Regions from separate parts of the Homo sapiens genome. Here all the other regions are linked to region 1. The links are contacts of gene promoters, found by promoter capture Hi-C in blood cells and fetal thymus (Javierre and others, 2016). All regions are on one chromosome and are shown on one strand. The core of a region is centred on a gene start or on the middle of the fragment in contact, and the rest is flanking DNA. Distances in the headings are between cores, read along the strand shown. Region 1 holds the start of FBXL3 (F-box and leucine rich repeat protein 3). Region 2 has its middle 59 kb from the start of SCEL. Region 3 overlaps MYCBP2 (MYC binding protein 2).

Region 1 (2,888 bases), core at 249-2,748:
CTTCTTAGAACTTCCTATTGTTCCTCATCATCCAGTCACTGAGGGACCTAAACAAATGTTGCAGCTCAGGCAAATCCACACTCTTATGCTACTAGAGGCTTTGTACAGTTTGATTCAGTGATCTGACAGCTGACAGGCCCTTAAAAAACACCGAACAAACAACACTGGCATTTCCCCACATTGAATTCATTTTATTATAGAAACAGTCTCACTCTCTCACCCAGACTGAAGTGCAGTGGTGACATCATAGGTCACTGTAACCTCCTACTCCTGGGCTCCAGCCATCCTCTCGATTCAGCCTCCTGAGTAGTAGCCGGGATTACACCAAGCTCGTCTGATTTTTTAAAATTATTACTCTTCTATTTTTTTGTAGAGACAAGAGTCTGGACATATTGCGCAGGCTGGTCTCCAATTCTTGACCACAAGCAACCCTTCTGCCTTGGCTTCCCAAAATGTTGGGATTACAGACATAAGCCTGTACCACTCCTGGCCTCACACTGAACTTCGACGTAACTTTATACATGGCTTCCTAGCTCAATTTCTTGAGAAAACGGGAAGAACGGAGAGCTCCCTGGGCACCACTGCTTTTCAGTGTCTTATACATGGGTCTGAGTGTTCTAAGACATCTTTGAATGGAAAACTACTTTCTCTCTTTTTTTTTGGAGGTGTAGAGAGGAATGGCGCATGATTCAACTTAATGATATTGCACCTAAGAATGTTTCTAACTGTAAGAAAACGCAGTATCAAAAAATCCAAACTTTAAAACAAGTCAACTAGGTAGCAGTTACAAAGATGCCTTGATTTACAAAAGGATTCACCAGAGGTTTTCTTTTCAGCAGCTTTGTAATCCTTTACTTTCCCCATTGCGTTTCAAAAGCTATTTACAAATTTCAGGACTCTATTTCATAAAGCAAATGTCGTTTTTAAAATGTAATAACTCTAATGATAAAAGCCACTTTAGAAATATTGGGAAATACAAATATTTGAAAAACAAAAACCATGTGCAATCCCAGCGTTAATACTCTCACTATTCTGGTACATTTCCTTGGCATCTTTTAAGCACCACTTATGCACATCGATGCGCGGGTCTTCGGAGACTGTATTTAACTCCTCGGTTTCAGGCATCCGGGGCGGCCACCCGCGGGCCGCGGTCCCCAGCAGGCTCCGGCGAGACTCCTTCCTTTCTTTTTTCTGCTCCACCTCCCTAAACCTTCCAGTTTCAGCCACAGATAGTCTCTTCCACATATAGCTAGCTTCAGCCCTCCCACATTCCATCTCAAAACAACAAAAAAAATCCCCTTCAAGCGGGAGTCACATCTCTGGCAGGAAGGCAGAGGCTCGTCCCACAGCAAGGAGACTGGGGCGGCCGCAGCGCGCGCTCCCGCTTGGGCGCGGCCCTACTCCCGCCGGGCTCCGCCCCCCCCCCGCCCCCTTCCCGCCCCCTTGGGCGGGGACGCGCCAGGGAAGCGCGCGGCCGCGAGCCCTGGGCGCCATTTTAGACTCGCTGTTTGTGGCCCAGGTGCAGGAAGCTTACGCGGTGGCAGCCGCTCGCTGAGGTAGTCTCTCGCGGCGCCGGGGATCCCTGAACACAGACAGCGCGGGACTGAGAAGGAAAGCTTCTTTCTGGGCAGCCAGAGCCGCAAAGGTGGAGCCGCGTTGGCGCCCTCCGCGGGACCAGCGCCTCGGATGCGGGCGGAGCGCGGGGGGCCGCGGCTGCGGGAGCGCGAAGCGGGGGGCCAGGGGCGCCTCATGTGAGAGCCGCGGGACCTGCAGCCGCCGCCGTCCCCGGAGCACGGGGTGGTGTGTGGGGGAAGCCGCCCCCGGCAGCAGGTAACGGCGGAGGGGCAGGGCCGAGCCCCGCTGCGACGGCGGAGCCGGGGAGGGACCGCGGACCGTCTGTGGGCGGGCCGGGGTGGGGTGGGGTGGGGGGGGGCGCGGGGGCCGGGGCGCGCGCGGGCCGCTCCTCAGGAGTGCCGGGCGGGGCGCGGGGCGCGGCACCCAGACCTTGGAGCTTGCTTGGGGGCGTTTCCCCGCCGTGCCTGCTTCCAAACATGTCAACAAGGCGTGGTGCGTGTGCGGCGGCCGCCTGCAGCCTGCCCGCGACGCCGCCGCTCCCGGGTTCGCCGCGGCTCCTGCCAGGCTTTATGACCCTTGGCGGGGGCTGGTGACAGGCACCATGGAGCTCGCACTCTGTGGGCTCTCCCGGCGTCGGCTACGCCCGTGCTGGTAGCTTGAGCAATGAGGCACTGAAATGTCAAAGCAAACTGCCCAGGGTGGGGCGCATGAGAAATGTCAGGGGAAGCCAGTCGGTGGGGAGGTGGCGCAGGGAGGAGGGGACGCCCCTGCCGCTTAGCCAGGCGAAAAACTTGGTCAACTTGTGTTGAGCGGATTCGCGTCTGCCTTTGGCGTGGGCAGTCCTTTAGGTGGGGTTGCAGACAGGGGTCAGGAAGCAGCCCAGTAAATGGTCTGTATCTCCAAGCTGAGAGGTGAGAGAGATCATTTTTATTTTGTCGTTGCTAATGATATCCAGTTGAGTGACCCAGATTTTTTAATTAGAATCCTCCTTTTCTAACTTGAAAAAAAAGTAACTTAGTTTCTGTTATCTCTGAAATATTTATAAAAATACCATCAACTATCAGTTATCTATCTATCTATATGACCTGTAGACAGATTTTCGCCACTGTGCGCTCTCTAAGCATTTAGTTGTGAGTTAACCTCTTTATAGTGTTTTATTCTTGTAGTTCAGCCAAAGAATGCATATTAGTTTGATATTAGTAAAAGCAGAACAGAAAGGAACTGTGATGCCAAAATAGGCTTTTTAGAGTTAACTACAAATGAGCATTTAAAATTATTGCATGCCCAGTGTAAAAGTGCCTAATACAACGATG
Region 2 (2,888 bases), core at 211-2,710, 450 kb before region 1:
AGAATTAATTCTAAGCACTCTGCAGAATCTTAGACCTTAAAGCTAGAAAGCATTTTAAGGTCCTCTGCATCATACAATATTTTCCATATTTCCAGCCTATAATTTTGCTTTTAGCCATTTCAAAGTAGAAAAATCTCTATACTGTGCTAGTACATCAAGAAGCAGTTCTCAAATCAGCTACCACTGAATTGACTATGGAAATGTGGCTGTAGATACAATTTGCAATTGTCAAAAGCAACCAAAGAATCTTTAGGGACTCTAGGCATAGGTGTAGTGAATAAGCACAGAAGTCATAGCCAACCCACTTTTATTTTCTAAAGCAGAGAACTCTGGCAACCAGTGTTGTGAGTTCCGTGGATGGCATGCTGGCTCCTTGAAGGAAAAGGCTCTTAGACACACTCAAGCTTGAACACACTCAAGCTTGAACGATGATGAGAAATAACCATATCCTTATTCTTCAGAGTAAAATGATTCATCCTAACTTGTTGACAGTAAAGAGAAAAAGTGTGATTCTTAGGTCCATGACAGTTTCTCCAATCATCTATCTAAAACATAGCTGCGATTGATTTATTGAACATATTTACTCATATATTTTTGTCAATAAGTACATATTTTTCATATAGGCACACAGAAAAGCAAATCATATGATCTACTGTAAGAATCCGATGAGGATTTTTGTGACCACATTTTATTCTAACCTCTTTTCTAATAATCTGTGTGACCCTGGATTTGCCTTTTTCCCCCACTTCCATACAAGATTTGCATGGAAGCAGTAGAATCAGACAAGCCTAAAATATTTGGCCACTTGGATTCACTGGGGTCATTCTACTTACTGTAAGAGACAAGAGAACCCGAATTAGCAATTCTAATATTCCTGAAGAAGTCTTCATAAGCTATAATGGTTCTGAGTACCAAAGAGGTTTTGTATACCTGGTCCAGTTACTGCAGGGAAAGAACCTAGACTATACTATCTTACTTCCAGGACACATTGTAAAATAAATCAGTCATATGCAAGGGTAAAAGTTCTGATTCTAAAGTGCCTGCAAGTCTGGGATGCTTTGGGGCCCTGTCAAAATGTGCAGTGGAATAGATTCTAGGAATTTCTCTCTGAAGCTTCCTTACTCTTCCCAGAAGAGAGATGTGTACCCTCATGGTTTCTAACTACCTTACAGATGGCCCTGACCATTTCATATTATAATTATTGTACATTCCTAAAGAGTGTGGTCATGTTACATAGGTAGCTAGTCAGGCATGAGCAGAGCAGGAGAGGGCTCCCCACCTACCAACCAGTAATGTCAGGTGATCATTAGGTGATGGTCAGGTGGTTGTTAACTGTCTCTCTAAAATAATAATTGGTTGCAGCCAGTGCCAGGGAAAGGCAGTCTTCCAATATAAAGAAAAAACCTGGAACTGGTGATCAGTAGCTTCTCAGTAAGATCTCAGGGGCTGGGTAAGTGGGCTCAAGCATGTGCATTAAGAAGCAAAATGGTGGAGTTTAACTGGTATATGACCCTCTAGGGTTCTAGGGGCAATCAACTGCTAAGGGAAGAATGCCTCAAGTAAGCATGCATATAACTCCAGTAAACACACCGTGCATGCTCACCTCCCAAGCGCTAGCAGGCCACTGCGCATGCCAACAGCCTTCCCTAAGGGAAGAATCATGTGAGAAGGGACACAAGACGCTGGAAGTGTGCCAACATATAAAAACCTAAGTCAAAAGTCAACCACACGCTTGATCTCTCATGTTGCCCACTTGGCTCTCTTCCAAGTGTCCTTTACTTTCTTTTGTTTCTCCTCTAAAGCTTTTTAATAAACTTTCACTCCTGCTCTAAAACTTACCTCAGGCCGGGCGCGGTGGCTCATGCCTGTAATCCCAGTGAGAGGTAACAGCATGCTGGCAGCCCTCACAGCCCTTGCTCGCTCTTGGCGCCTCCTCAGCCTTGGCGCCCACTCTGGCCGCGCTTGAGGAGCCCTTCAACCCGCTGCTGCACTGTGGGAGCCACTTTCTGGGCTGGCCAAGGCCGGAGGCGGCTCCCTCAGCTTGCCGGGAGGTGTGGAGGGAAAGGTGGGGGCGGGAACCGGGGCTGCACGCGGTGCTTGTGGGCCAGCGCGAGTTCCGGGTGGGCGTGGGCTCGGGAGGCCCTGCACTCGGAGCTGCCCGCCGGCCAGCGGGCCGGGGCAGTGAGAGGCTTAGCACCTGGGCCAGTAGCTGCTGTGCTGAATTTCTCGCCGGGCCTTAGATGCCTTCCCGCCGGGCAGGGCTGGAGACCTGCAGCCCGCCGCCATGCCTGAGCCTCCCCCGCACTTCGTGGGCTCCTGCGCGGCCCGAGCCTCCCCGAGGAGCGCCGCCCCCTGTTCCACAGCGCCCAGTCCCATCCACCACCCAAGGGCTGAGGAGTGCCGGCGCACGGCCTGGGACTGATAGGCAGCTCCACATGCGGCCCCTGTGCGGGATCCACTGGGTGAAGCCAGCCGGGCTCCTGAGTCTGGTGGGGACTTGGAGAACCTTTATGTCTAGATAAGGGATTGTAAATACACCAATCAGTACCCTGTGTCTAGCTCAGGGTTTGTGAAGGCACCAGTCCACACTCTGTATCTAGCTACCCTGGTGGGGACTTGGAGAACCTTTATGTCCAGCTAAGGGATTGTAAATACACCAATTGGCACTCTGTATCTAGCTCAAGGTTTGTAAACACACCAATCAGCACCCTGTGTCTAGCTCAGGGTTTGTGAATGCACCAATCGACACTCTGTATCTAGCTACTCTGGTGGGGACTTTGAGAACCTTTGTGTGGGCACTCTGTATCTAGCTAATTTAGTGGGGACGTGGAGAACTTTTGCGTCTAGCTCAGGGATTGTAAACGCACCAATCAGCATCCTGTCAAAAC
Region 3 (2,888 bases), core at 236-2,735, 260 kb before region 1:
TGTTCATTCCTAGTATGTGGATATACTACTCATTTTTATATAGTAATTTTATATCCTGTGATTTTGTTAAATCTGCATACTATTTCTGGTAACTTTTTTGCAGATTCCTTAAGATTCTCTACATGTTTTTTTACAAGTAAAAACATTTCTTTTTTAGAAAATACTTCTTGCCTTTTTCCCTTGGCTGGATAGGATATTTTCCTTGCACTAGATAGGATATCCAGTACAATGTTGATGAGTTGCTGAGAGTAGACCAATTTGCCTGGATCACAATCTTAGAGGGAAAGCATTCAGTCTATTACCATGTTAGCTGTGGTTATTTTGTAGATACCCTTTATCAAGTTGAGAAAATTCCCTTCTATTCCTAACTTAGACTTTTTTTTTTTCTATCATGAATCGATACTGGATTTTTGTCAAGTGATCTTTCTGTGTTTATTTGAAGTATAATATATTTTTTCTCTGTTACAACAGTGGTTGCTTTTCCAGTGTTGTGCCAGCATTGTCCCTGGGTTAAACCTCAGTTGGTCATAATGTATTACTTTTTTATATATTGTTGGATTTGAATAGCTAATACTTGTAATATCTCTGGATATTTGGATGAGATATTTGTAATATCTCTTATACATATATTCATAAGTTATATGCCATGCCAATTTAACTTTTTGATGTATTTCTTATTTAACAAGTGTATTTTTTTTTTCCAATTCTTTATGGAAGAAGAGTCGAATATTTGGGACCAAGTGTTTTTGGTACTTGAGGTATCATTTTGTTTATCTTAGATACTTCCTGGACATACTCTAATTATTGGAAGTTGAATTTCTAAAATATTTTAAAACAGCTTTTTATATTTATAATATAAATGTTGATCTTGAAATTGTAGTTGCTGTCTGATGAATAAAATATTGGGCATAAAAGAGAAACTGTTTAGTCTTAACAAATTACCAATCACATGATTTTTAGCCTTTATCAATACTGATAGGTGAGAGAGAGCTTAGGGAAGCATCTACAGTTTACTTGGCATTACTGTTACTTGAATGAGAATGAAATGAGCTGATGAAAATTAAGTGTTTTTTTGGGAGGCCCTCATTTCTGTGTAAACTTCTATATCTACTTTTAAAAGCATTCAAAATGCAATCTAATGTTTGTAGTAGGTCATTGAGACTCTACAGTGTGTCTAGAGTCTCTTAGGAAGTCGTAAAATGAATTTCCTTTGATACAGAACTCTAAGAGTTAAGCTTTGTTGAGTCTATTCCTGTCATGGCGATACAAGAATATTTCTAAGTTTTTTGCCCATCCTTTTCCAGCCCTTGTCAGATTGGTTGGTTATTGCTGCATTGCTCAAAAAATAGTGAGGTATAGAAAAGGGGACTAGAAGTTGGGTCCATAGACTTAGACTGTCTCTGCTGTGTCACATAATGTGTCTTCTGCAAGTCAGTTAGTGTGTCTAATCTTTACTTTTATGTAAAATGGGACTTGATGATAGAAAAGAGTGTGAAATGGAAATATTCTGTTTTGTATTTCAGTCTGAAAACTTAGAGAATACAGTAATCATACCAGATATCAAACTACATAGCAATCCTTCTGCTTTCAATATTTACTGTAATGTACGCCATTGCGTTCTGGAATGGCAGAAAAAGGAAATATCATTGGCAGCCGCATCTAAGAACTCTGTGCAGAGTGGAGAATCAGATAGTGATGAAGAAGAGGAATCCAAAGAGCCCCCTATCAAGCTTCCAAAGGTAAGCCACTGAGTTCTATTAATATTTAGATGTGTAACCTGCAGGTGTTCTGGCTATAATGCATATATACGCATTGCTAAAATACTTTGCTTTATGTAAAATTGCACACTAAAAATAACACGGCTTATGGGCAAAAATAGATTTGGAGCAGAAAAGGAAAACTCTGCAACTTTATAACTAAGGTGCTAACAAAGTCAATAATTGATAATTCACTGGAAAGCGCAGGAAGGGAGATCAGTGGGTTGGAGTCTGTTATAGGGGCAATTAAAAAATGTACAAAAGCAGTAGGGTGGAAATGCTAGTATAGAGGCATTGAGCCATGGCAGATGGAAGTAGAGCTCTGAGCCAGTGAGCCGAGAGTAAGGTGGGCACAAGAGAAAGCCAAGAGCCCTGGAAAGCTGGGAGGTGCTCCTCACCTGGGATGCAGGTATGCGTTTTTATTTTTCTTGAAATAGAACTACAAAGCCTCTCAGCTGTGTAGTAGCAGGGCTGAGAGCCTTTTCCTTTCTGCCTAAGCTTATAATTGTACTCTTGATATTGTGGTTTCCCTTGATTAGGAAAAAAAAAAATCACCTATGAACCAACTGAACTTCTGCATTATTCTGATATTACTCCCTTATTTACCAGGAGCATATAAACTAGTTGGTATTTCTATAATAGAAGCATGTATTGTAGGCCGGGCGCAGTGGCTCTCACACCTGTAATCCCAGCACTTTGGGAGGCCAAGGCGGGTGGATCACCTGAGGTCAGGAGTTTGAGAACAGCCTGGCCAACATGGTGAAACCCTGTCTCTACTAAAAATACAAAAATTAGCCCGGCATTGTGGCAGTCGCCTATAATCCCAGCTACTCAGAGGCTGAGGCAGGAAAATTGCTTGAACCCAGGAGGCGGAGGTTGCAGTGAGCCGAGATCATGCCATTGCACTCCGGCCTGGGTGACAGAGTGAGACTGTCTCAAAAAAAAAAAAAGAAACTGGCTGGGCGTAATGGCTCACGCCTGTAATCCCAGCTCTTTGGGAGGCCAAGGCGGGCGGATCACGAGGTCAGGAGATCGAGACCATCCTGGCTAACACGGTGAAACCCCGTCTGTACTAAAAACACAAAAAAAACTTAGCCCGTCACGGTGGCGGGCGCCTGTAGTCCCAGCTAC

What was found. The method cuts DNA at HindIII sites, captures the fragments that hold promoters and counts their contacts. A CHiCAGO score of 5 or more calls a contact.
Region 2: a contact is called between a fragment that was not itself captured here and the fragment with the promoter of FBXL3 in region 1, in 1 of 17 cell types (naive B cells). The highest score is 5.0, in naive B cells.
Region 3: a contact is called between a fragment that was not itself captured here and the fragment with the promoter of FBXL3 in region 1, in 2 of 17 cell types (total B cells and naive B cells). The highest score is 6.0, in total B cells.

What each region holds. Positions count from the first base shown.
Region 1 is chr13:77,025,769-77,028,656 of GRCh38, reverse strand. FBXL3 (F-box and leucine rich repeat protein 3) reads left to right here and starts at 1,498. Exons shown (of 5, transcript NM_012158.4): 1 at 1,498-1,830. RefSeq lists silencers at 1,378-1,427, 1,598-1,877, 1,898-1,957. The HindIII fragment of the contact is 14,791 bases long and covers 1-1,531 here.
Region 2 is chr13:77,475,009-77,477,896 of GRCh38, reverse strand. No RefSeq gene overlaps it. Among named protein-coding and RNA genes, the nearest start is that of SCEL, 59 kb to the left of the region's middle. RefSeq lists an enhancer at 1-76. The HindIII fragment of the contact is 689 bases long and covers 1,116-1,804 here.
Region 3 is chr13:77,287,012-77,289,899 of GRCh38, reverse strand. MYCBP2 (MYC binding protein 2) reads left to right here. Exons shown (of 83, transcript NM_015057.5): 3 at 1,524-1,739. All of the region lies in intron 2 of LOC124903184 (a long non-coding RNA gene), which reads right to left. Among named protein-coding and RNA genes, the nearest start is that of MYCBP2, 39 kb to the left of the region's middle. The HindIII fragment of the contact is 495 bases long and covers 1,238-1,732 here.